Regions from separate parts of the Homo sapiens genome. Here all the other regions are linked to region 1. The links are contacts of gene promoters, found by promoter capture Hi-C in blood cells and fetal thymus (Javierre and others, 2016). All regions are on one chromosome and are shown on one strand. The core of a region is centred on a gene start or on the middle of the fragment in contact, and the rest is flanking DNA. Distances in the headings are between cores, read along the strand shown. Region 1 holds the start of SRFBP1 (serum response factor binding protein 1). Region 2 overlaps YTHDC2 (YTH N6-methyladenosine RNA binding protein C2). Region 3 holds the start of TMED7 (transmembrane p24 trafficking protein 7). Region 4 holds the start of ATG12 (autophagy related 12). Region 5 overlaps SLC12A2-DT (SLC12A2 divergent transcript). Region 6 overlaps ARL14EPL (ARF like GTPase 14 effector protein like). Region 7 overlaps COMMD10 (COMM domain containing 10).

Region 1 (3,314 bases), core at 399-2,898:
AACAGACACCTAACCCAGACCGAGAGGAGTTAATGAAGGTTTCCTAAAGGTCAAATTTTAACTGTTTTGAAGAAGAACAAAAGTTAGCTAAGTGTGAAAAGAGTCTTTAATGACTCATCCCCTGTCATTTCCATCATCAAAGTCATTACAAAATTTGATATGAAGCTCCCTGGGGTTGAAATCCCAGGGACATTACTCTGATCTTTCATACATCACAGGTAACCTAATGCAAAATAGCCCACCAAACGCTTTCTGGCACAAAGCACAAGCTTAATGTATGTTTATGAGTAAATAGTAACTACTTTCAGCTTCCCTCTTCAGCATATCCTGTACTCCACTGTCAACTGAAATCCTGACTCGTTAATCTGGCAGCAGAGAATATATTTCAGTTTTATTTCCTTCTTCATCTCACAAGTTCCCATCAGTGAAGAGTTACTTATCCCTGTATTACCCACGGGTTCTTCTGCTACTAGCCCTTTCCTGCTTATACCAGTCCCTCTGCCTGGAATGACTTCTTCCCCTTTCCTGAATCACTGACTGCAATTCCTGTGCAAGATCCCTAAAGACCAAGGACAAGTATCACCCATTTCATTTTGCCGCCTTTGGAAACTTTTCTGCATTACTAGGTTTTGGAGGCATTCTTCACACATTGTTCTGTAACACAGGTGAGTGTTGCTTAGCTCTCTTACTTGAGTATAGGTTACTAGAAAATATGAAATATCCCTTACACTACTGTGTGTAATCTAAACAGTGACTTGCTCATAAACGGGATAAAGAATTTCCTTTCTGTATCTAACTGTGAGGTCCTTACTCGATCCTTATGTTTCCAGCTTACTTTAAGACTTTGGATGACATTATTTTGTTGAATAGAAGCAGAAACCAGAGGGGGATAAGTGGTAGAAATGGTATTTTGTCGACACCGCACACTATGGAAGTGACGGTGGTGAGAACAAATGTCTGATGAGAATGGACTGAAAAAGCAGAAAAAAGAATTGAGGATAGCAAGTATAAACAGCTCTTTATTGAAGTTCTGCTGTAAACGGAAGCAAAGAAATAGGACACTAACTGGAAGAGGAAACGAAGTACTGAGCATACAGTCTCATTCAAGACCACCAATTTCTTAGAAGCTACAGCTCTTACTTTCTCTCTTTCATTTTCGACAGGCAATAAAGAGCAGGTAATGTGTACTGAAAGTTTATTAAGGGTCAGGCACTTGCAAATACTTTACGTATCTCAGTTAATCTCACAACCCTGGGACGAACTATCTTGAGTTCCGCTTTACAGACGAGAATATTGAACGTACAGGCTAAAGGTTCTTCCCAAAGTCCCACAGACATAAATTCGTGGGGCCTGACACATGTCTCTCACTTTAGTCACCTGGAGACCGAAAAGGGAAATTACCGGTTGCCAAACTCCAAGTTGCGGGAAACCCGCCTGGGCCCACCACGAAAGTTCCTCCAACCGCACCCTCTATGCCCGCCTCCGACCACGCGTCTCAAAAGAGCTGGTTTTGAGGACCCTTAAAGTCAGCCCCATAGGTTCCTCGGCGCTCACCTCGTTATTGAGGTTCAGAGTTCCCGGCTGAGCCATGGTAGATGAAGGAATATGATCCGCCGCTGCCTGCACGTGAACCGGTCTCTCAGACCGCGGCTGCGTCGCCACGCCCCTCAACGGAAGCCTCTTCTGTCCAAAACTCATCCGCCTTCTGCTCTAGCTGCCGCCTGGGAACAAGAAACATTGACGCTTGGAAGGGAAAACCGGAACTGAGACAGAACAACTACCGGCGCAGAGGGCTACGCAACGGAATTGCGCGTTCCTATGGAAACCAGACGGGGGCTGGTAGCTGGGCAACGTCTAGTTTTTCAAGATTCGGTTTGTGTGTGTGTGTGTGTGTGTGTGTGTGTGTGTGTGTGTGTGTGTGTGTTCCCTTGGTACACTGCGCTCGCATTGTACCGGCCTTGGTTTTTCTCTCTAATGGCTAGGGGGGCGCTGAACGGCGGTGAAAGAGCTCTTCTGAAATGATCACTTGAATGAACGATTTTTTGCTTCCATTTTTTTAAATCTAGTATTTGTGAAGATTTCTGCTTTTCTAACAAGCACACCTTTTTAAATCCTCGCAGTTTTTTGTTACAACCTGACATTATAGCTGAGGTGCGGACATTTTTTTCCTGCACACTATAGAAGGGTTTAAATTTAGGGAATAAACATTTGAAGCAAAACCAGGATACACATTTGGTACTGCCTGTGGGAATGGCTGTTTATTAGCCGGCAAGCATAGGAGACGTAAGGGAGTGTGTTTGAATTAGGTAATATATAATTGTCAACACCTTCTAGTATTGACCATTAAAATGTGTCAAATGGTGGTCCAAGAGCTTTACATAAATTAGCTCCAAATCTCCACAGAAATCCAACAAGATAGAAATTATTTTCCTTTTATTAATATTATTTTGTTAGAGACCCAGTCTCTCTTTGTCATCCAGGCTGGTGTGCAGTGGCACAGTCATAGCTCACTGCAGCCTCAAACTCTTGGGCTCAAGCCATCCTCTCACCTCAGCCTTCCAAATAACTAGGACTACAGGAGTGAGCCACCCTACTCTGCTCTGAACTATTATTTTACAGATGTGGAAAGTGACTTCAGAGGCACCAAGTGCCTCGCCCAGAGTCACTTGCCTGGGACTGTCCACTGCTACAGGACTTCAAGTCCAGCTACATAATACCTGGGGTACAGTGCAAAATGAAAATCCAGGCCCCTTTATTCAAAATGCAGGAAAAACGTTTCTTCCGGCGGAGGGTGGTGGCTCATGCCTGTAATCCCAGTACTTTAGGAAGCCTAGGCGGGCGGATCACCTGAGGTCGGGAGTTCGAGACCAGCCTGACCAACGTGGAGAAACCCCGTCTCTACTAAAAATACAAAATTAGCCGACCGTGGTGACGCATGCTTGTAATCCCAGCTACTCGGGAGGCTGAGGCAGGAGAATCACTTGAACCTGGGAGGCGGAGGTTGCCGTGAGCCAAGATCACTCCAGACTGGGCAACAAGAGTGAAACTTCGTCTCAAAAAAAAAAAAAAGTTTCTTCCATAGCGTCTCTTGACTCATCATGGTGTTTGTTAATTTACTATTTAATACGATGCTCCCTAAAGCACAGAGACATTAGGTTGTCAGGGCAGACCCTCAAAGGTGCCTGAGACCCCTGCCCCAAGACTCAGGTAGGAGTGTATACACTGGAGCAAGGTGGCAGCAGTTGCTGGGTGGAGACAGGAGAGCAGGAAACCAGAGAATCCACCTGAGGAGCTTTTGGGGACAGGACCACACA
Region 2 (3,314 bases), core at 560-3,059, 8.4 Mb after region 1:
TGAAAAGAAGAAAAGGCATTTGAAAATCACAAGGACCACTAAGAAAATATAGTACAAAGTTTACTCAAAGATGAAAAAAAGAGAGAAGGAGCTAGGGTATTTCGTAAGAAGGTTTGAAAGCATTAAGGTTATAGGTATTAGGGACTGGATAAATAGGCAGGATTGCCTTGCTTCCCTTAGCATCTCTTTCCTTTTTCTTCTTTCTCTGGCTCTTCAATGTTTCCGCATTCCCCATTTTTGTCTCCATAACTTCCTTCTTGAATTCTCCTTCCCAAGATATCTATTCATTCCAGATCAGCTCTTACATGACTATGCTACTGAAGAGAAGGACAGGAAGTCTACTCTAATGGACTGCTTTTCTAAGTTAGCTGTTTAGAATGCAAGACCCATGTAACCATAGAAATGATGTAGCTACAGAACTGTACATTTATAACATGTGTTTCCAAGCACAGGCCCAAAACCTCTTACCTGCAACTAGTAAACCCAAACAGTGCCAAAAACTGGAAACTTTTAAGTTTGCAGTAACCTCATTTGACATCAAATGTGATCACGTGATTAAACTGACATGAGGTTATTAATAGTCTCAGTGTGAATATTCATAGAATTTCCAGCAAAAATATAAATGTGACTAAAGGTGATGGCCATATTTTATTAGGTAGATTATACAACATATTGCAAATATACCCAAATACCTTTCTAAAGTCTAAAAAATCTGAATCTCAAATATATTTAGCCCAAGTGTTTCTGGATAAAGTATTGTGGCACTGAACTATATTTTTATTTTCAGGTGCAGTATTTTTACCTACCTAGTGGACTATAAGATGGGCACATTCAGGAATCTAACCACTGTTCCAGCACTGGCCTTAGTGATGTTCAAAACGCACATTCACCTAAACTAAATCCCGTGTCTCAGTAATTTATCACTGTAGTAGGCAGTCATATGCAAGACATTCCTACATCAGCTGCTTTCACTTTGGGACCATCTGAATATTTATTAATATATTTACTTAATAAAGTTTTGTTTTCCCTCTTCCTAACCTAAAAACATACCGGTAAGCTGAAATTTTATCCTTTTCTTCCCTCTATGTCAGTAGTTCTCAACCTGAGCAATTTTGCTCTCCAGAGGACATTTGGCAACCTCTAGAAGCATCTCTGGTTGTCACAACTGGGGTTAGGAGTGTTAGTGGCATGTAGTAGTAATGGCTATGGATGCTGTTAAACACCCTACAGTACACAAAACAGAATAAAGAATTATCCAGTCCAAAATGTCAATAGCACCAACAGTGAGAAAGCTTCCTTTACATTGATCCCACCATCCTTATTAACAAAATGAAATAGCGCCACAGAATTTTAGAGTTTTTCAATTTGGATGGCTCAAATGACTTTTCCCTCAATGTAACTCTGTGATCCTCCCAACAAAACAAAACAATTTCCTCCTGTACCACTTTTTAAAATCATTTCTAATCATCAGATCCTTGACTTGGTAGGAAAGAAAACAATGAACATATGCTCTAAAGCTTATTATTATATTGCAGTAACAGTAAAAGAAGTAAGTTCCATAAATAATTGCAACTATCTTTTGTACATCCATTTTTCAAATGAGATTTCTATCAAAAAATAAAAATATTTTTCTCAAGCAATCAACTTCAACTTTTAAACTATTTTTTTCTTACATCTTAAAATTTACCTTTGAAAGAGTTCACGGTATGCCACCCAAAAATATGTCACTCTGCCATAAGGATTATTTTGAGCTGAAGGCAATCGAGAAGAAGCAGACATAAGAAAAACTCCGCCTTCCCCTGCTTTACCAGAAAGGGAAGGACTATTCTTAACAAGAGAAACCACTCTAGACTCTTAATAGAGACAGCACCAGGGGAACCTACATAACCAACCTTGCTAAAAGAACACATATCTTCCATTAGTTTCCCCACATATACCTTCCCACAATTTACTGCACCTACAAGTTCAAAGTCCTTTTCCTTTGTCTTGTCATTTTTTAAATAAATTCATTGTTCTTTATTAAGATGCCACATAAGCCCCATGTTTGAGTTACTATCGAGTTCTCCCCTATGTATGCATGATGCATGTCTTAATAAGCTTATGTTTTTCTCTTGTTAATATGTCTTTTATCAGTCTAATTTGCAGGGTCCCAGCCAAGGAACCTAAGCTGGGTAGAAGAAAAAGCATTTTCCTAGGGAAAAACAAAACAAAACAAAAAAGGGGGGAAGAGGTAGACAGAGGGAAGAGGAAAGAGTTGAATTTGGTACAGACCTGAATCTTTTATCTACATATGATACAATTAAGAATGTGAAGTTAAAACAGTAATAAGTACTTAAATGTACTCAGAAACGTTTCTCCCTTTTTTGGGCAAATAATCTTTTTTAAAAAAAATAAGAAAAGCTACCAGCTTACCCTTTACTTTTAGAGACCAAACCAAGAGACTGACTGAGTCGATGAATAAAGGCTCTTTCAGTACTGGTCAAAGAAGAAGGAAATTCCATTTCTACACGGAAAAAAAACAAAGTAGTAAAATTTGTAGATAGGCAATTTTCTCTCAAGTAAAACACACAGATACAAAATATGAAAAACATACATAGACAATCAAATTTATTATACTTTATTTGAGGTTAACTTTATATTTCATATTCTATTTATGTAAATTAATAAAATTAAGATATTTTATTAATTCAATAACTACTGAATGTCTATCAGAATTCTGATATTAATAAAAAGACAGCTATGTATTAAACCTAAATGTGATAAAGGCCTCTGATATTCACCAAAAACGACTCCTCTTACTTGTTCTGGAATTTTGAGTTGGTATAATGACTGAACATATTTAACTTGGTCCCTACTTGTTTAGTTAACAAAATGTTTATTTTCTTCAATGATGAGATATGTTCAAATATTATGAATTCTCAACATGAAACTCCATTGTCTTTGCTTTCAAAACTGTACAGAATTCGTATTTCACTATTTCAGAGGGATTTGTTATATATTGCTGAGGCTTTCTCTTTTTTTAATGTGAATTTAGAATCTCTCTGTCTAGAACATTCCCCGTTTTGGACTATAAGATTCCAGAGTAAGAGGTCCCCTAACTAAGCCAGCAGGTCCGAATGAGCCCTCAACAGACTGCACAGGTCACCGCAGGTCAGTTGCTGGTTCTGCATTATATGACCCAAGACAAGTGGCTATCTAACCTCAAGAGGTGTGGAAGATGCTTCGTGTGCCAAACAAGTTTAATTTAAGTGGGTAGCGTGATGCTTCAGGGTCCAAACGTATTGCTGGTGCATTTATTTATATGTTTGATTTCT
Region 3 (3,314 bases), core at 390-2,889, 6.3 Mb after region 1:
ACTATCACCAGAACAGCATGGGAAAAATCTGCCTCCATGATTCAATTACCTCCCACCGGGTCCCTTCCGTGACATGTGGGGATTATGGGAACTACAATTCAAGATGATATTTGGGTGGAGACACAGCCAAACCATACCATAAGGATAACAGTCTTTAGATTTAGGGCCCACCCTAAGTCCCAGGATGACCTCATCTTGAGGGCCTTAACTTAATTACATCTGCAAAAGCCCTATTTCCAAATAAAATCATATTCACAGGGGTGGAGGGGTTGAAACTTGGACATGTATTTTTTAGGGGGACACAATTCAACTCACTGCACACATTTACATAAATAACACATCTTTTAATAAAAATATTTTCGAAATAAAAATTTAGCAAGAAGAGTGACCTTATTTTTGTAAATCTTTCATATCTAGATTTAAGGAAGAAGCTGGGTGCTCATTTCCTTTGATATTCAATCTGTTATGCTGTTTTGGTTGAAATATATAATGAAAATCCAGCTTCATACAGATCATTACATACCCTCTGAAAGGGTTTCAGGAGGCTTCTGGGGACTTCAGAGCAACACTTGAGAACCACTGCTCTAAAGCATATACTCCATAAATATATGTAAAATGGAATTTCCAGGCTGTGGCTACATATTCCAGGCTATATATATATATATATATATACATATATACACACACACACACACACACTGTATATAGGTGTGTGTGTTCTGTGTGTGTATACATATATTCTACTTTATTAGATAATGGCACATTGTTTTCCAACTTGATTAACCAATTTACTTTTTCACTAGCAGTGTATAAGAGGTTTTGTGGCTCTATAAGTCGACCAATATCTGTTATTGTTACACTTAAAATTTTTGCCTATCTTGTGGTATGTAATGTATTGATTGCACTGTGACGTTTAATTTAACAAAAGTTCATCTAGTGCTTGCTATGTACCAACCACTTCTAGGTACTTTTTCCAAATATTGGTACTTTGTAATAATTCTCTATGGTAGGTGCTATTATCTCCATTCTACAGATACACACTGAGGCAGAGAATTTAAGCAAGTGGCCGGACGTCACACAGCCAGTACGTGGCAAAGCAGGGATTAAGCACTCCTGCAGTCTGCTCTTAGAATTCGCGCTCCTTGCCCAGCTGCTTCCCCCAAATATTTATTATTACTTATGAGAAAACTCCGCAAATTGCAAAGCGCTCTACCACCAACGATTAGCACCCTAGGGCAAAATGAGCCCTTTACCACTCCCTAGATGCTCCCCAGCGCTAAGTTCCCAGCGGAGGTTGCAGTGAGCGCAGATCGCGCCACTGCACTCCAGCCTGGGTGACAGGGCGAGACTCTTGTCTCAAAAAAAAAAAAAAAAAAACAACAAAAAAAGCCAGTGATTGGAGCGTAATTACCCTCGCCAACCGCCTGTAACCACGGCGGCCGCCACGCCCCGTTTCCTGGTCTCGCCCCTCTCCGCCCACGACTCTGGCCCCGCCCCTCGTCCCAGGCTGCAACGGAGGCAGAGCCAACGCCTCGCGGGCTTCCACGTACGCACTCCAACGCGTGTTCCCGGAGAAGAACGCATCCGGGTCACGGGAGCCGGTGTCTCAGGCTCCGCCCCTTCACCCCCCGAAAGGCTAATCCCCACTTCCGACCCTCTCAGGCCTTTTCCGCTTCTCTTTTACCTCCCCAGGTCCGCCCGTCTGCGCCCCTCACAGGAAGCCGGAGGGTCGCTCTGATCCCGAATCTCCCACAGGCGTGAACCTGCTCTGCTGTGTATCTTTGCGGGGTGGCCTGCGCTGAGGCCTGCCGCGCGCGGTGAGTCCGCGCAGACCTGACCCTGCGTCTCGCAGCTCGGTTGAGGCCGCCGCCGCCTTCTCGGGATGCCGCGGCCGGGGTCCGCGCAGCGCTGGGCGGCCGTCGCGGGCCGTTGGGGGTGCAGGCTGCTCGCACTGCTGCTACTGGTGCCTGGACCCGGCGGCGCCTCTGAGATCACCTTCGAGCTTCCTGACAACGCCAAGCAGTGCTTCTACGAGGACATCGCTCAGGGCACCAAGTGCACCCTGGAGTTCCAGGTATCAGGGGCCTAGCAGTCCCTGGGCCCCAACTCGCGGCTCCAGGATTGGGGGTGTAACTTGAGGGATGGCACTTTCCTGTCCGTGTTTCCCCGTTCTTAGGCTAATTCAAAAATCGCTTCTAGGTAGCTGATGCCCAGCATTTGACTTTCCTCTAATAAACCTTGGGTGAGAGATGTTAAGACCGGGTGTTAAAATATATGAATTCCAGAAATGCTCCCTTTAGCATTTCTTTCCATCTCATTTTTAAGGCCTATTGAACTTTCTTCCTTAAAAGATTCCCTTAAAGAAAATCATTTATACTCTGTAGTACCCAGTGTCAACCCTCTACTCTCTAATCCACACCTCCAATTTAATTGGATTTGGAGTGCTGCCAATGTCTAACTTCATTGCTTTTCAGTTTTACCAATATTAGGACTGTTGGTTAATACGGTCCTTGTCATTGGAAGAGCTCCATTACAGGTTGAACGGCCATTTGCCAAGGGAGTTGTAGAAAGAATTGCTGTGATAAATGAGAGGCCCCTTCTGATATTTGGGATTATATAAAAAAGAAACTTTAACAGAATGTGGTTTATTCGGTTGGTTAGAACAGTCTTTACTGAGCTTCAATTTTGGTTGGTAGGCGCATTTAACATTTGAGTAGCTATTGAATACTAGGTGCCAGTGGTACAGAAGTGGTCGAAACAGATAGGGTCACTGCCATCATTCATGATTCCCCTCTCACCCTGCTTTTCTTAACTGGTATCTGCTCATTCATCAGAACTGTGCCTTAAGAGCAGTAAGTAGGATCCATGAAGGAAGACTTCCTTTGGAAAATTATTTTAAGCTGAACTTTAAAGGATGAGCTATAAACACCTTGGTAAGGGAGGAGGGGGAATAGCCTGTGGTAGTAGTGAACACTGAGAATTTCAGGGCCATAGAGAGAGGTCCAATATGGTTGGGAATAAGGAGCCAGAGCAAGGGGGTCAGCAGGGGCAGGCCAGATAGTGTCTTGCTGACCATGTTAAGGATTTGTTTTTCCTGAAAGTGTAGGAAGCCATCAGAGGGTTATAAGCAGTTCAGTGATATGACGAGAATATTCTTGGTAGCTGCATTAATAATAACTTGTGCAGGTAGAGAAGTGATGGTAAGATGTTGCAGAGCGGATGTGGAAGGCTGATTAGGAGGTTATTATGGTGGTCTAGACAAGAAATGATAGTGGCTTAGAGTAGAGTGATAGCAGTGGGGTAAATGAAAAGTG
Region 4 (3,314 bases), core at 815-3,314, 6.1 Mb after region 1:
ACACTGGCAAAATGGTTATGACAAAGACTCCTTCAATAAAGGCTGGTACTATATTTTAACAAACAGGTAAAGTTAATGGCATTTTTTCCCATTCGGGAGGATCAACTAGAATTTAATCTGGATTAAAGAATGATGTAGAATTTTTAAACAGACCATTAGTATTGAAGTTATACTAAATTAAAACCACACACGAGTAGCAGAAAATATTCTTTATAGCTAGCAAAAGCAAAACAACTGAAAAAAATGAAGAATAAGCTCAAGATTTCTCACTTCAACTAACACCTCCAGACTGCATTATCATTTTAGGCAAACTGACATTTTCACATTTACTTTGTAATGGCAAGATTGATTTCCATCTGGGACTTATCTGCATAAAAGTGTTAGCCTTGGCACAATTTCAAAATTGAATTGAAAGCTCATTTCTTGCTATAAGCAAAGTGCCACAATACCACACAACAGTTATACCTCACATTAATCCTACCACTGGGAGTCCAATTTTATGTGTTTCAGCTAGCGAATTCTGCCCTCAGGTAAGCACATAACTCTATAAAACCCTTCCTCGATCATCAACAAATCACTTATCTCTACTACCTTAATGCCTCCTGCACTTGTCCATACTAAACAGTATTTACACGTTAAAAGAGAAGTTCTACAAATGCTACTATTCTTCATAAATAGAAAAAAACTATAAATGAGGGCAAATTCCCATACGTGGAAAAATGCCAAACCAGAAGCTGAAATCATAACTTTTAGGTATAGAACCACAGCTCCAATCAGTCAACTACAAACGTCGCCGGTTACTTCGAGGGTAAATAATTTGCAGCCAGCTGGTAAAAAGCCTGATAAAAATATTAGGTCCTCACATATCTTCCTTTTCAATAAGGAGACACCTGAAAGTCACACTGGGCAGTCTGTCACGTATCGAAACATGCAGAAGAGAGACTGTACAGAACGTGCAGTTATCAAACGCAGGAAGCCAAAGTTCCTGTGCTATGAGAGGACCACAGTGAAAAACGGTAGCCCATCTGTCCAAAGAACAGAAAGAAGTCCACCTGGAAAGGATGGGAGTCGGCGGAGGGGGGCGAGAAGAACGAGTTCCACGCCGTCTTCCTCCTCCCGGGCTAACTGCAGCCGCGGGCGGCAGGAAGGCAGCCGCGCGGGGTGGGCTCTTGGGGACTGGGCGCAGGGCTCCGCGGCGCGGCTGGGCTGCGGCTGCCCGATCGGCGAGGGCCGGGCCCCGGGAAGTCTCCAGGGCCTCGCCCGCGCAGCCAGGAAAGCATGCAGCCCACCGACGGGCGGAGGAACCGCCCGGGCAAAGCCACGTCGGTGGCTGACCGCGCGGCAGGGAGGTGGGCACCCTGTCCACACCCACCAGGAGGCTGACAGCTGGCGAGCGCCAGGCGGCCGGGACGGGACAAGGGCCGCAGCGCGCCGGAGGGGGTCGCTCTGAGAAAGCCGCGCTGGGCGCTGCCCGTCGCCAACGACTCCCCCTCGCCCGGATCAGCGGCGGCTGGATACTCACGTAGGGCTGGTAGAACTTGGAGAGCCGCGGCTTCCCGTGGTTGTTGAAGATTAGGATCGCCTTGATCATGGCTGTGCCGGGCCGACCGGGTGGGCACTGGGGGCCAGGGCGGGGGCGGGCGCGCGAGCCTCGCCTCGTAATCTCGCCTGCGATCCTTCCCCACCCGCCCCCTCCCGCACGCGACCGCGCGCGCTCCCGAGCCGTCGGGCGGGGCCCAAGGGGCGGGGCCTGGGCGGGGCAGGCACTAAGGAAAGCGGAAACATTTCTAGGTCCGAGCCAGCGGCCTAACTGGAGTGTGCGCATTCGACCGAGCACAGACACGTTGCCCACCGCTCCTCTCCCGAGGTCTGTAGTCGCGGAGAAACACATGTTGCGTTACTAACGTTCAGAGGTCTGCGACAGCTTCGATTTGAATGACTAGCCGGGAACACCAAGTTTCACTGTGTAATTGCGTCCCCCTACTCCGGCGCCTCCTTTGCGACGCTCCCTGGAGAAAAGCACGCCCACTGCACGCGCTCAGTCGCTACTTCCGCTCTCGAGTGTCTCCAAGCAAGATGGCGGAGGAGCCGCAGTCTGTGTTGCAGCTTCCTACTTCAATTGCTGCTGGAGGGGAAGGACTTACGGATGTCTCCCCAGAAACAACCACCCCGGAGCCCCCGTCTTCCGCTGCAGTTTCCCCGGGAACAGAGGAACCTGCTGGCGACACCAAGAAAAAAAGTAACTGAATTTATTTCCGGGCAGAGAGGCGGGAGGTTCAGATTGCATCCGAGTAGGGGTGGCGGCCAGTAAAGAAGCAAAATTTAGAGGAGCGCCTGTCCTAGACCTGCATTTTGACCAGTCATCAGAAGAAAAGAAGTGTACTTTTTGATTTTTAAGGCCTTTAAGTTGAGTGTTAAAATACCATCTCTGTCTATCGGTGTAGGGCCTGATACTTGGCTGCCACACTTATTTTTATACTGTATTTTTTTGAGTTGGCCAGACTGCGAGCTCTTTGAAGGAGGGAGGGAGCTGAGTGGGGCGGGGGGAGGGGGGTCTCGGTAATTCCAGGTACTTAACACAGGAGCTAATTATTTGAGTAATGTTTTATGGTGGTAGGGGTGGTCATTGGCAAAGCCTGGATTAGAATTCATGCCTTCCAACTTAACTCGCTTTTGCTTTTTTCCCCCTCCCAGTTGGTTGTGAATTCACTCCTTAAACCAAAAACCAAATTCTTATGCAGAATGAAGACTGCTAAGGGAAAGCTAAAGGCATAGATGTTACCTTTTTAAGAAACACATTTTGGAACCTTTGTGAGTTATTTCATTGCTTGAGTCAGCTATCCTCAACCCTTTATTGCTTGAGAATGTTTCCCTTTGTAAAAGAGATTGCTAAAATTACGTGTTCTAAAGCACTCTGTTTAGAGTTAGAGTTGCCTATGGGAAAAGCAGCATATAAGCATCCTCGATTCAGAGAGGCTGATTTCGTCCTTAGACGTTTTCCCCGTTCTGTCTTAAGATGACAGTGGTCTCTGGCCGGGCGCGGTGGCTCACTCCTGTAATCCCAGCACTTTGGTAGGCTGAGGCGGGTGGATCACCTGAGGTCAAGAGTTCGAGACCAGCCTGGCCAACATGGTAAGACTCCATCTCTACTAAAAATATAAAAGTTAGATGGGTGTGGTGGCGCGCGCCTGTAATCCCAGCTACTCGGGAGGCTGAGGCAGGAGAATCGCTTGAACCCGCGAGGCGGAGGTGGCAGTGGGCGGAGGTCTCGCCATTGCACTCCAGCCTGGACAACAAGAGCGAAACTCCGCCTC
Region 5 (3,314 bases), core at 248-2,747, 6.1 Mb before region 1:
CTTAAGCAGTCTGCTTTCCAAAGTGCTAGGATTACAGGCATGAGCCACCACACCCTCATACTTGTGGAGCTATGAGGATTACATAAAGTACTATTCGTAAAATACTTAGAATAGTGCCTGATAATATGGTAAGGCCTAATGTATGTAAACAGTAAATAAATGCTTAAAACTTAATATTTTATTCAAAAAACAAACAGGGCTAAGATACAACCTTTAGGTCATATCTTTTCTTGCAAGTATGTCCTGTTTTATTTTTTACTTTGCTTTTTGTTTTGATTTTGAGAGGTATTTAGGTAATTTTTTGAGTAGCATGTAAGCTATTTTTTTTTTCTGTTACAGATTTTTAGGGCAGTTTTTAGTGTCATTATGTTGCTGCTACATATTTGGAAGATGGAACAAGCCCAGACAAAGGAGGATTCTTTTTTACTCATCTTAAATCCATTTTATTTTCCTTCATCTGAGCCCCTTAAAACTAATGTGTTACTGGTAAGTTGGTGTGTGCCTGTAGTCCCAGCTACTAGGGAGGCTAAGCCAGGAGTATCGCTTCAGCCCCAGAGTTCAAGACCAGCCTGGACAACATAGCAAGACTCCCGTCTTAGAAAAAAATCTGTACAGATATGTTATAGGAACATTTTGTCTGCATTCACTACATTGCACTATACTTTAAAAAAAAAGAGATTTAAAATACAAATACTGACACTTAACACACATGTACTCATATCTTAATAATTAGTTTAATTGCTTCCCCTTTATGGAGTCAAATAATATAATGCGTTTCCTAACTAACTGTATACTTATATTTTCCTCAATGTTAATGAAAAATCTCTAATATTTTTATCCTCTTATATTTCTTAATTATTAATCTATTTTCACTTTTAAAAAGCCATAAAAATAAGATATGTTTTTATAATTATTCTAGATGCCTGAAATTTTGTAAAAATCATAAATATGGAAAAGATCTTAAAGGGTTATGTAATAAGCCCCTACTTTGCACAATATTCTACCTCTGACACTTTTAAGAAAATAATTTCTAGTAACACATCCTAGTGGTTACAAGTCCTTATGCCATAGCATTGGACATTAATAATCACTCAAATACTTATTGAGGAATAAGATGTTCTTCCTAATGACTAAATTAAATTATTCTCATTATAATTCAATTCTTTGGCTTCTTGTCCCATTCTTCAGAGGTTATGGTAACCCGTAAAAGTGTAAGGTTATTTTCAGTTTTATTTTCTAAATGATTTCCTCTTGCATGTCATTATAGGACCAAATTTCTAAGTATGTAATTATTTTTATTACTGTCCTCTGGGCCCTTTCCAAGTAATTTAATCTTCCTTTAAATGTGGGCCAAAACTATTAGGTTCAATATGGCAGTTTTTAAAAACATGAGTATGAAGGTAAAGGCAGGTTATTACGGTTCATGTAATTGTTTTCATTTAAAACTGAAGTACCAGCTGACTTTGAATATGGCCCTGAGTATCAGCTCTTCTGATTAGTCAAGAAATGTTTCTTGTTTTTTAAGAGATTTGAACTAAAATTCCACCTCAATTGTAACCAATTTTTTTTTTTTTTTTTTTTTTTTTTGAGACTGAGTTTCTCTCTGTTGTCCAGGCTGGAGTGCAGTGGCATGATCTCGGCTCACTGCAACCTCTGCCTCCCGGGTTCAAGTGATTCTCCTGCCTCAATCTCCCAAGTAGCTGGGATTACAGGTGCTCACGAACAGGCCTGGTTAATTTTTGTATTTTTAGTAGAGATGGAGTTTTACCATGTTGGCCAGGCTGGTCTCGAACTCCTGACTTCAAGTGATCTGCCGGCCTTGACCTCCCAAAGTGCTGGGATTACAGGCTGAGACACCCACCATGCCTGGTTGAATTGTAACCAATTTCTAGAGACATAAAATTCTTAATATATATTATATAATATAGATAGATATTATTGATATATATTCCATATTATATAATTCTTGATATAATATATAATTCTTGATATATAATAGGATATATATCAAGAATTTAATATCTATAAGTCAAGTAGATATTTATTATTTATAACATCTTTCTATTTATAAAGTAATAATTAATATAGAAGTCATAGGAAAAAAGCAAAAGGAAGTAACACTTATAATGCCATCACCCTGAAATAACATTTTCCTGTTTATGGTATTACAAAATGATTTATGGTATGTTTTATAGTTTTTAAAACCAGTAATGTGAACATTTCTCTATATATGAAAATGGATATCTTGCAATTGCATGATTTCTAATGGCTTCATAATATTGCATCATGTAGATTTATCATAATTTACTGACTCTATCACCTATTTTTGAACCCTGTTTATTTCATTTTTAAATAAGAGCAAGCAGTGCTACATTGGATGTCTTTGTGCATATATCTTTCTTAATTGAGTATTTCCTTAGGATAAATTCTTAGAAGTGAAATAGCAGGGTATGTATATTTTTAAAACTTTTGGCATACATATCAAAATTGATTTTCAGAAAGGTTATTATCAATTTATCCTTCTGTCAACATTGTGTTTGAATTTCTGCCTTCCACCACCCTTATAAAGTCAGAGTAAAATCTTTCTTAATCTTTGTCAATCTGATTAGCAAAAAAAAAAAACAACAAAAGTTTAATTTGCAGATCATTGACTTCTAGTGAGGTTATAGTTTTTAAAGTTTCTTAATCATTTATATATTTTTATTTCTGAATTGCCCATTGATATCTATAGAAGACCATTACTGTATCCTAGAAGTGGGGTTTCCATTCTCTCTTGTTGTGGTAATAGCATACACATTTTTCTTGTTGTTTTTGTTTGGGTTTTGTTTTGTTTCTTTGGTGAGGTGGGGGTAATTCTTTTACTGGAATTACCTCTCTGTGTGTAGTTTTGGAAGGACATAATAGAGGAGCTTGCCTGCCCCAGCCAAATTGTGAGCATATGACCAAATGTGCCAATCTGGCTCTCATAAGTGTTTTGAATTTTGGGTGGTGTGATGCAAAGTCAGAAAAGTAAGTCCAGTTGTGGGACTCTTAGTTGCTTATATCTCACTTCCTCCCTCCCTGGGCAACTGCCTTGCCTGAGGGCAACCCAAGGCCACTGACTAGCTGATGGTCAATATAAAGGGCATTGACTGTATTTGGGACAATCTAAAGAGCCACTACCTCAAAGAACACCCTGTAGGATGGACTGAGGCTTCAGCTGCATCCTCACTGTGAGTCTGCTGCTTCCTCTGCCCAATCCTGCCTTCCTCATTTCCTTATAGTTGTGTCTCCTGAGTATACTCTCAATCAAACTTCCTCTATGCCATTTCTCT
Region 6 (3,314 bases), core at 469-2,968, 5.9 Mb after region 1:
AGCCTTGCATGTGTAAATGTTTAAAAATGTCCAAAGCATTCATTACATAACTACCATCTACGACATCCACAGACTATACAAAATGGCATTGTTCACTTTTATAAAAATAGAGGTTAAATGATTTTTCTGTGAGTTAGCATCCCAACGTCTATACCTGCAATGGATCCAAGATGTTGTGTCTTGGGTGGGGGTAGCTGGAAGGGGAGGTACAGAAGGATTATCTAAGACAGTGTACAGATATTCTTTAACTCTTACAAATTACACTCAAAAGTTGTCACAAAAATTGACGTGATATGGCATTCTAGTCCAAAATCCTTGCATAAATGGGCACGGGATAATTTGTCTAAATCCTTCAGTATGTACTGGTTTAATTTAAATAACCTTTTGTAAAATAGGTTTCCTTCCATTTTACACATATTCATGAAGACATGCTATCAGCATTGAAAGATAGCCAAGCAGAAAAAAGTCCTGTCACACTGACAAGACGATTTCCTTGGGTAATGTAATCAGATAGTACAGCTGCATTCCTTGTTAATCTGAATTTAGTTCAAATAGCTAAAGAGCTTTATTCACTTTGTAATAAAAATTAGACACTTGCAAAATAAGTTTTAGACAATTCACATAAATTTATTTTTGTAATAATTATTTATTGCAAGAGAAGTTTTAGAAATACACTGAAATGGCATTAGATCAAGATGAAATAACCTGATTTCTAAAAGTGTACTTCATCAAATGCTTTACTAGGCTTCCATGATAGCAGTATTAGGTGTCTGCTTAGTTAATTATGCAGTTTTTTACTTTATTTTTTGCCTTACTTGGAAAATTTACCAGTATAATTTTTCAACACACTTTTTAAGCCAGATCATTTTAAACCAGATTCCTTTATCTAATCCTTAAGACTGAGTGACAAGAGGAGACAGAAAGGAAGGAGGCTTTAATGCTAATTTGCCTAGGATTATTTTTTAGCATGAAAATTGGACAACTGATGATATAGGGCAGTGTTTCTCAGATGTATCAGATCATAAGACTTAACTGCAATGCTTGTTTAAAATTATGGAATCCCAGGTCTCATTCCTACAGGTTCTGATTCCTGAGGTTGGGGATGGGTCTTAGGAATGTTTATTATATTAAAAGCACTTAATGACCGTAGTGTAGGAAATACGTGGCATCATTGAAAGAGCTCTGACCTAGTCTTAGTGTTCAAAACACCAGGGCTGCCAATTCTTCTGTGTGTCCTTACCTGAGTCACTTAATCTCACTGGGTCTAAATCTCCTCAGTTGCAAAGGTACAAAAACAACAACAACAAAAAAGAGTTTGGCCTTAGTCCATAAGCCCCATGAAGACAGGAGCCCTGCAGATTTTGTTCACTGCCTGGTCCCCTGCACCTAGCCTGCTGCCTGTCACAGAGCAGCCTCTCTGTTAGTATTTGTCGACTAATTCACTATATGGATGAGCTGCAAGGCTCTTTTTGGCTCTAAGATTATATGATTCTAAAATGAAGAAGTAATAAATGCATTTGGTCTGCCAATTACAAAATAATAATTATTCTCAAAAATAAAACAAGATATAAACTGAAAAAGGCCCTGCTTGTTTTTACTGGTTTCCCGGCTGCACATTCCTGGTGAGCATTTCAAAGAATGTGATTTGGGTAATTTGATTTTACGTCTTCCTTACTGGGCTGTGATGGTTAAAGGAAATGCAATTCATTACCGTGTTAACACAATGTTTAGTTCACAGTGTATGCTCAGTAAAAGTAAGTGAAATCTGGAAAACCCAGTAAATTCTATGGAGAATGATGCAGAAGAATGTAAGTTCTCTTGCTCCGTGGACAGGTGTACTGTAGTCACACCATTACTTTTAGGACTTTTCTTATTTTAGTCCTAAAACATACGTCAAGCAACAAATCCAGAACTGTCAGAAACGTTCCCTGGCACAAGTAGATTGTGCAGAAGTGAGTGTTAAACTGATTATGAAGGAAAAATAAATCCTGAAAACTCTATTTATAAAAGGCCGGTCACGGTTGCTCACACCTCTAATCCCAGCACTTTGGGAGGTGAGGCGGGCTGATCACTTGAGGTCAGGAGTTTGAGACCAGCCTGGCCAACATGGTGAAACTCCGTCTCTAATAAAAATACAAAAATTAACCGGGAGTGGTGGTGCAAGCCTGTAATCCCAGCCACTTGAGAGGCTGAGGCACGAGAATGGCTTGAGCCCAGAGGCGGGGGTTGCAGTGAACGGAGATCGCGCTACTGCACTGCAGCCTGGGTGACAGAGGGAAACTCCGTCTAAAAAAAAAAGAAAAAGAAACAACAACAACAAAAAACCCTCTATTTATACTATTTCAAATTTATTTTAAAACTTAAATGCTTTTATTTACTTTTAAATTTTTATTACGTTACTTTATTTAAATACTTCCAGCTTTGTGCAGTGGCAGTATCATAGTCAATGAGGTTTAAATACTTCCTTACATTATGTATCTAAAATAATTTAGAGAAGTGGTTCTCAAAGTGTGGTCCCCACATCAGCAGCATCAACATCACCTGGGAACGTGGAACAGATGGTTGAGCCCTGTCCCAGATTCTGAATGTGGGGCTGCAAAAATCTATGTTTTGACAAGTTCTCTAGGCAATTCTCATGAATGAGAACCATTGACTTAGGGTTAAAAAAAAGACTGTCATAAAAAAATGAATTCAAAGAAAGCTGAATTCAATATTTTATAGCTCTGATGATGTATCAAAGTTGAAAAGACTACATCATTTATCTAGTCAATTGCTTATCAACACACTCAATTAGCAAACATACAGAAAATCATTTTTGTATAACTTGTTTTCTCTCTATGAAAAACAAATCCTGAAATACTGCTTCTGAAATCAAAAATATGTAAACTCCTGGCTTTTAGGATAATAAATTCCTAACTTTTCAATTTTACAAGTACAATACAAATTTTAATGATTAAAAATACTACCAAGTATTACTAAATTTCATTTTAATGTTATTAAAACATGAACAATAAAAAAATGAGGCTATGGGTATACAGTGCAAAGTCACAGTTTTTCTTCAAAATCCAAATGGCAATTCTGATTTACAGCTAGTGATGTATAAGATTCTAAGGACAACTAGATATTATAAATTTAAGATTCTATGTTCTATGTAAGAAAAGCTCTCAACTACAGAGTTTTGAAAATCTTAAAGCTACATTTTCTCAGATATCAGCAAAGAGGGAAGAGAGTTTTAATTTGAAGGCAGAGTAGAGATGAGGGTGCTGATGAGAAATGCTGATCCCTCCATTGTTACATTCTTTGGTTGCAAGTTA
Region 7 (3,314 bases), core at 552-3,051, 5.9 Mb after region 1:
AAAATAAACACCTTTTGATTTTTTAACATTATTTCATTGATCTTACCCTCTTTGAATTCAGAATCACAGTCTTTCCTCAGTATCTAGCGAGGGCTGGTTCCAGGACCCCCTACAGACACCCAAAACTGCAGATACTCAAGTCCCTCATATAAAATGACACAGTATTTAAATATAATCTACACATATCCTCCTTTATACTTTAAATCATCTCTAGATTATTTATAATAACTAATACAATGACAACACATCATTTCTGTGGATTTAACATAGTACTCAGCACATGGCAAATTCAAGTTTCACTTTTTGGAATTTTTTGTTTCCCAAATATTCTTGATCTGCTGCGAGTTTAATCCATGAATACGAAATCCAGGGATACAGAGGGCTGACTGTACTACCAACATGTGTTCTGCTGCAAGCACCCCACAGTTTATGTGGGTAGGACCCTAAGTTACCATAAAACAGTTAAAGTCATTGCATGTACACCTTTTTTCATCATATAAGTCAGTGTAATATATTTTTGTTACAATTTAAATGGCATGATCTGTTTTCACATCTGGCTATTTTGGCCACAGTATCCTAAACAGTTCTCAGAATGAAAAAGAAAGATAGCATTACAGCTGCCAGAGGTAGCATGATATAAAAGGAATAAGACTTAGAGACAGACAGATCCAATCCTCATTTCAGTTTCATCATGGACCACTTGGGATAATATGATAAAGTGACTAATATTTTCTAAAGTTTTATTTCCTCACTTTTAAAAGGTATGTGACATGGTTTGGATCTGTGACCACAACAAATCTCATGTGCAATTGTAATCTCCAGTGTTGGAGGTGGGCCCGGTGGGAGGTGACTGGATCATGGGGGCAGGCTTCTCATGAATGCTTTAGCACCATCCCTTCAGTGCTATTCTTGTGATAGTTGAGTTCTCGCAAGACCTGCTTGTTCAAAAGTATGTAGCCCCTCCCTCCTCCCTCTCTCTCTTGTTCCTGCTCCTGCCATGAAAGACACCTGCTCCCCATTCACCTTCCACCATGACTGTAAGTTTCCTGAGGCCTCCCCAGAAGCCAAGCAGATGCCAGCACATCATGCTTCCCGTACAGCCTGCAGAACCGTGGGCAAATTACACCTCTTTTCTTTATATAATTACCCTATTTCAGGTTATTTATAGCAATGTGAGAATGGACTAATATGAAGTACATACAAACAACTATATAAATCACCCTGCATAATGCCTGACGCAGAAAAATTCCGCAGCTAACATCTATGTGTTAGGATAGCATAATAGCTTAGGAATGTGACTATTCTTGTCAAATCCCAACTCAGCCACTTACTTAGCTGTACAATCATGGGCAACTTTTTAAACCTCTCTAAGCCTCAATTTTATAAGTACATGTATAAACTAGAACTATTAATGGGTTTTGTAACATACAAAGAACTCATTATAACATCTGACCCACAATAAGCACAATAAATGCTTGTTATCATTATATTATTTAAGCATTTCAGACTTTAAAATAGTATATTAGCAATCCTATGATATACCCAGAATTACCAAAAGATAATTTCCAGCATTCTCAATGGGACAATGTACAATTAATCAGATCATTCCAACTTCTTTATTTGCATATTTTATATGACAAATGATTAATTAATTTCTTAAAGAGAAGCTTCTGTAATCCAACTATGGGAAAAATATTACCTTTAAAAAAACAAACTTTCATCATGAAGACACTAAAAAGTAATTTACTATTAGAAGCAGAAAACAAAAATATTTTTAATTGTTATGACTACTAAAGTGCAAGGAAAAAAACGGACTGTATAAAATATAGGAAAAATATAAACAGAAAACAGGCTACTATTAAAAAGCCAAGAATTTTTTTTAAAAATGAAAATGGCTTAAAAAAAGAATTGCAGGGAAACAAATGGAAAGCTTAAAATCTATAGAGGATATAGGAAAAAGTAGACTTTAAAATGATAAAAAATGAAGCAATGACATAGAAGACACTTGAGAGTAGTAAGAATACAGAATTTTTAAAAAGGGAAGTAGAGAAGTGAAAACAATAAAGGGGCATTTTCTAACATCCTACTTAATGATAAGAGCCTGAATGCTTTCACCCTAAAATTGGGAACAAGGCAAGGATATTCAGACTTACCACTCCTATTCAGCATCACGTTGGAAGTCCTTGTCAGTAAAATAAAGCAAGAAAAATAAAAGCTCTACAGATTGAAAAGGAAGAAATAAAACTGTCTTTATTCACAGACAACGTGACTGCCTTCAAAGGAAATCACAAAAAACCTATAAGAAAGCTGCTAAAACTAATTAGTGAATTTACCAAGTTACAGGATAGAGATCAGTATAGAAAAGTCTACTGTATTTCCATATACTATCAATAAGCCATTGGAAAACAAAATTTGAAAAATACTACCAATAGTTCAACAACAAAAAAAAAAAGAAAGAAAAAGTACTTAAGGTACAAACCTAACAAAATAAGGGCAGGATTGATAAGCTGAAAACAAAAGACACTGATAAAAGAAATCAAAGAAGACCTAAATAAATAGATATACTCAATACTTATTAAGGAGTCATTTCTCAATAAAGTTATTTACAAATTAAACACAACCCCAATCAATACCCCAAGCAGGATTTTTTACAGAAATACAAAAGCTGATTTTCAAACATATGAAAAGGCAAAGAAACTAGGATTGCCAAAACAATTATAAAAAAGAAGAAAAAAGTCAGTGGGTTCACAATACCTGATTTTAACACTTACTATTAAGCTATAATAATTAAGGCAGTGTGATATTGGCATAGACAAATAAGTCAATGAAATCAAAGAGAGATTCCAGAAAAAGACTCACAAAAATATCAAATGATTTTAGACAAACACATGGTAATTCAATGACAAAATGATAATTTTAACAACAAATCACATTGGAGCAAATGAACATCCATACATAGAAAAAATGAACTTTGACCTGCACTTTATGTATCATACAAAATTAACAGTAAATGGATTTTAGATCTAAACATAAAATATAAATATGTAAAACATTTAGAAGAAAACAGTAAATATTTATGTCATGATTAGGCTGCAAATTCCTAGAAAACCAGAAGTAGGTTCATGAAAAGAGAAAAAAAAAATACAACAGATTTCATCAAAGTTAATGGTTCTGTTCTGGGAAAGATACTGTTAAGAGAATGAAAAGGAAAGCTACAGATTAGGAGAAAATACGTGCAAATCATATATCTCACAGAGGACTTCTAGAGAATATACAGATGCTCCTTGACTTACAATGGGCTTATGCCTCAATTA

The links. The method cuts DNA at HindIII sites, captures the fragments that hold promoters and counts their contacts. A CHiCAGO score of 5 or more calls a contact.
Region 2: a fragment that was not itself captured here is called in contact with the fragment with the promoter of SRFBP1 in region 1 in 1 of 17 cell types (total B cells); the score reaches 5.9 in total B cells.
Region 3: the fragment with the promoter of TMED7 here is called in contact with the fragment with the promoter of SRFBP1 in region 1 in 3 of 17 cell types (non-activated CD4 T cells, naive CD4 T cells and activated CD4 T cells); the score reaches 13.7 in non-activated CD4 T cells.
Region 4: a contact is called between the fragment with the promoter of ATG12 here and the fragment with the promoter of SRFBP1 in region 1, in 2 of 17 cell types (total CD4 T cells and naive CD8 T cells). The highest score is 5.8, in total CD4 T cells.
Region 5: a fragment that was not itself captured here is called in contact with the fragment with the promoter of SRFBP1 in region 1 in 1 of 17 cell types (naive B cells); the score reaches 5.6 in naive B cells.
Region 6: a fragment that was not itself captured here is called in contact with the fragment with the promoter of SRFBP1 in region 1 in 1 of 17 cell types (naive CD8 T cells); the score reaches 5.9 in naive CD8 T cells.
Region 7: a fragment that was not itself captured here is called in contact with the fragment with the promoter of SRFBP1 in region 1 in 1 of 17 cell types (naive CD8 T cells); the score reaches 5.4 in naive CD8 T cells.

The regions. Positions count from the first base shown.
Region 1 is chr5:121,960,309-121,963,622 of GRCh38, reverse strand. It overlaps SRFBP1 (serum response factor binding protein 1), which reads right to left and starts at 1,648. Exons shown (of 8, transcript NM_152546.3): 1 at 1,555-1,648. The coding sequence starts at 1,590. RefSeq lists enhancers at 1,663-1,712, 1,457-1,995. The HindIII fragment of the contact is 3,156 bases long and covers 272-3,314 here.
Region 2 is chr5:113,514,461-113,517,774 of GRCh38, reverse strand. YTHDC2 (YTH N6-methyladenosine RNA binding protein C2) reads right to left here. Exons shown (of 30, transcript NM_022828.5): 2 at 2,413-2,503. Among named protein-coding and RNA genes, the nearest start is that of YTHDC2, 2.4 kb to the right of the region's middle. The HindIII fragment of the contact is 580 bases long and covers 1,520-2,099 here.
Region 3 is chr5:115,624,361-115,627,674 of GRCh38, reverse strand. TMED7 (transmembrane p24 trafficking protein 7) reads left to right here and starts at 1,639. Exons shown (of 3, transcript NM_181836.6): 1 at 1,639-2,074. The coding sequence starts at 1,883. It overlaps TMED7-TICAM2 (TMED7-TICAM2 readthrough), which reads left to right and starts at 1,639. Exons shown (of 4, transcript NM_001164469.4): 1 at 1,639-2,074. The coding sequence starts at 1,883. RefSeq lists an enhancer at 1,574-1,743 and a silencer at 1,914-1,983. The HindIII fragment of the contact is 9,571 bases long and covers 1-3,314 here.
Region 4 is chr5:115,840,315-115,843,628 of GRCh38, reverse strand. ATG12 (autophagy related 12) reads left to right here and starts at 2,064. Exons shown (of 4, transcript NM_004707.4): 1 at 2,064-2,239. The coding sequence starts at 2,077. AP3S1 (adaptor related protein complex 3 subunit sigma 1) reads right to left here and starts at 1,694. Exons shown (of 6, transcript NM_001284.4): 1 at 1,523-1,694. The coding sequence starts at 1,591. RefSeq lists enhancers at 848-1,057, 2,048-2,097, 2,108-2,407, 1,796-2,697, 2,701-3,201 and silencers at 1,148-1,337, 1,438-1,817. The HindIII fragment of the contact is 16,491 bases long and covers 1-3,314 here.
Region 5 is chr5:128,074,119-128,077,432 of GRCh38, reverse strand. The region is part of intron 1 of SLC12A2-DT (SLC12A2 divergent transcript); the gene reads left to right. Among named protein-coding and RNA genes, the nearest start is that of SLC12A2-DT, 7.4 kb to the left of the region's middle. The HindIII fragment of the contact is 4,703 bases long and covers 1-3,314 here.
Region 6 is chr5:116,059,146-116,062,459 of GRCh38, reverse strand. It overlaps ARL14EPL (ARF like GTPase 14 effector protein like), which reads right to left. Exons shown (of 4, transcript NM_001195581.2): 4 at 2,971-3,314. Among named protein-coding and RNA genes, the nearest start is that of COMMD10, 24 kb to the left of the region's middle. The HindIII fragment of the contact is 4,719 bases long and covers 1-3,314 here.
Region 7 is chr5:116,095,474-116,098,787 of GRCh38, reverse strand. The region is part of intron 4 of COMMD10 (COMM domain containing 10); the gene reads right to left. Among named protein-coding and RNA genes, the nearest start is that of COMMD10, 12 kb to the right of the region's middle. The HindIII fragment of the contact is 263 bases long and covers 1,670-1,932 here.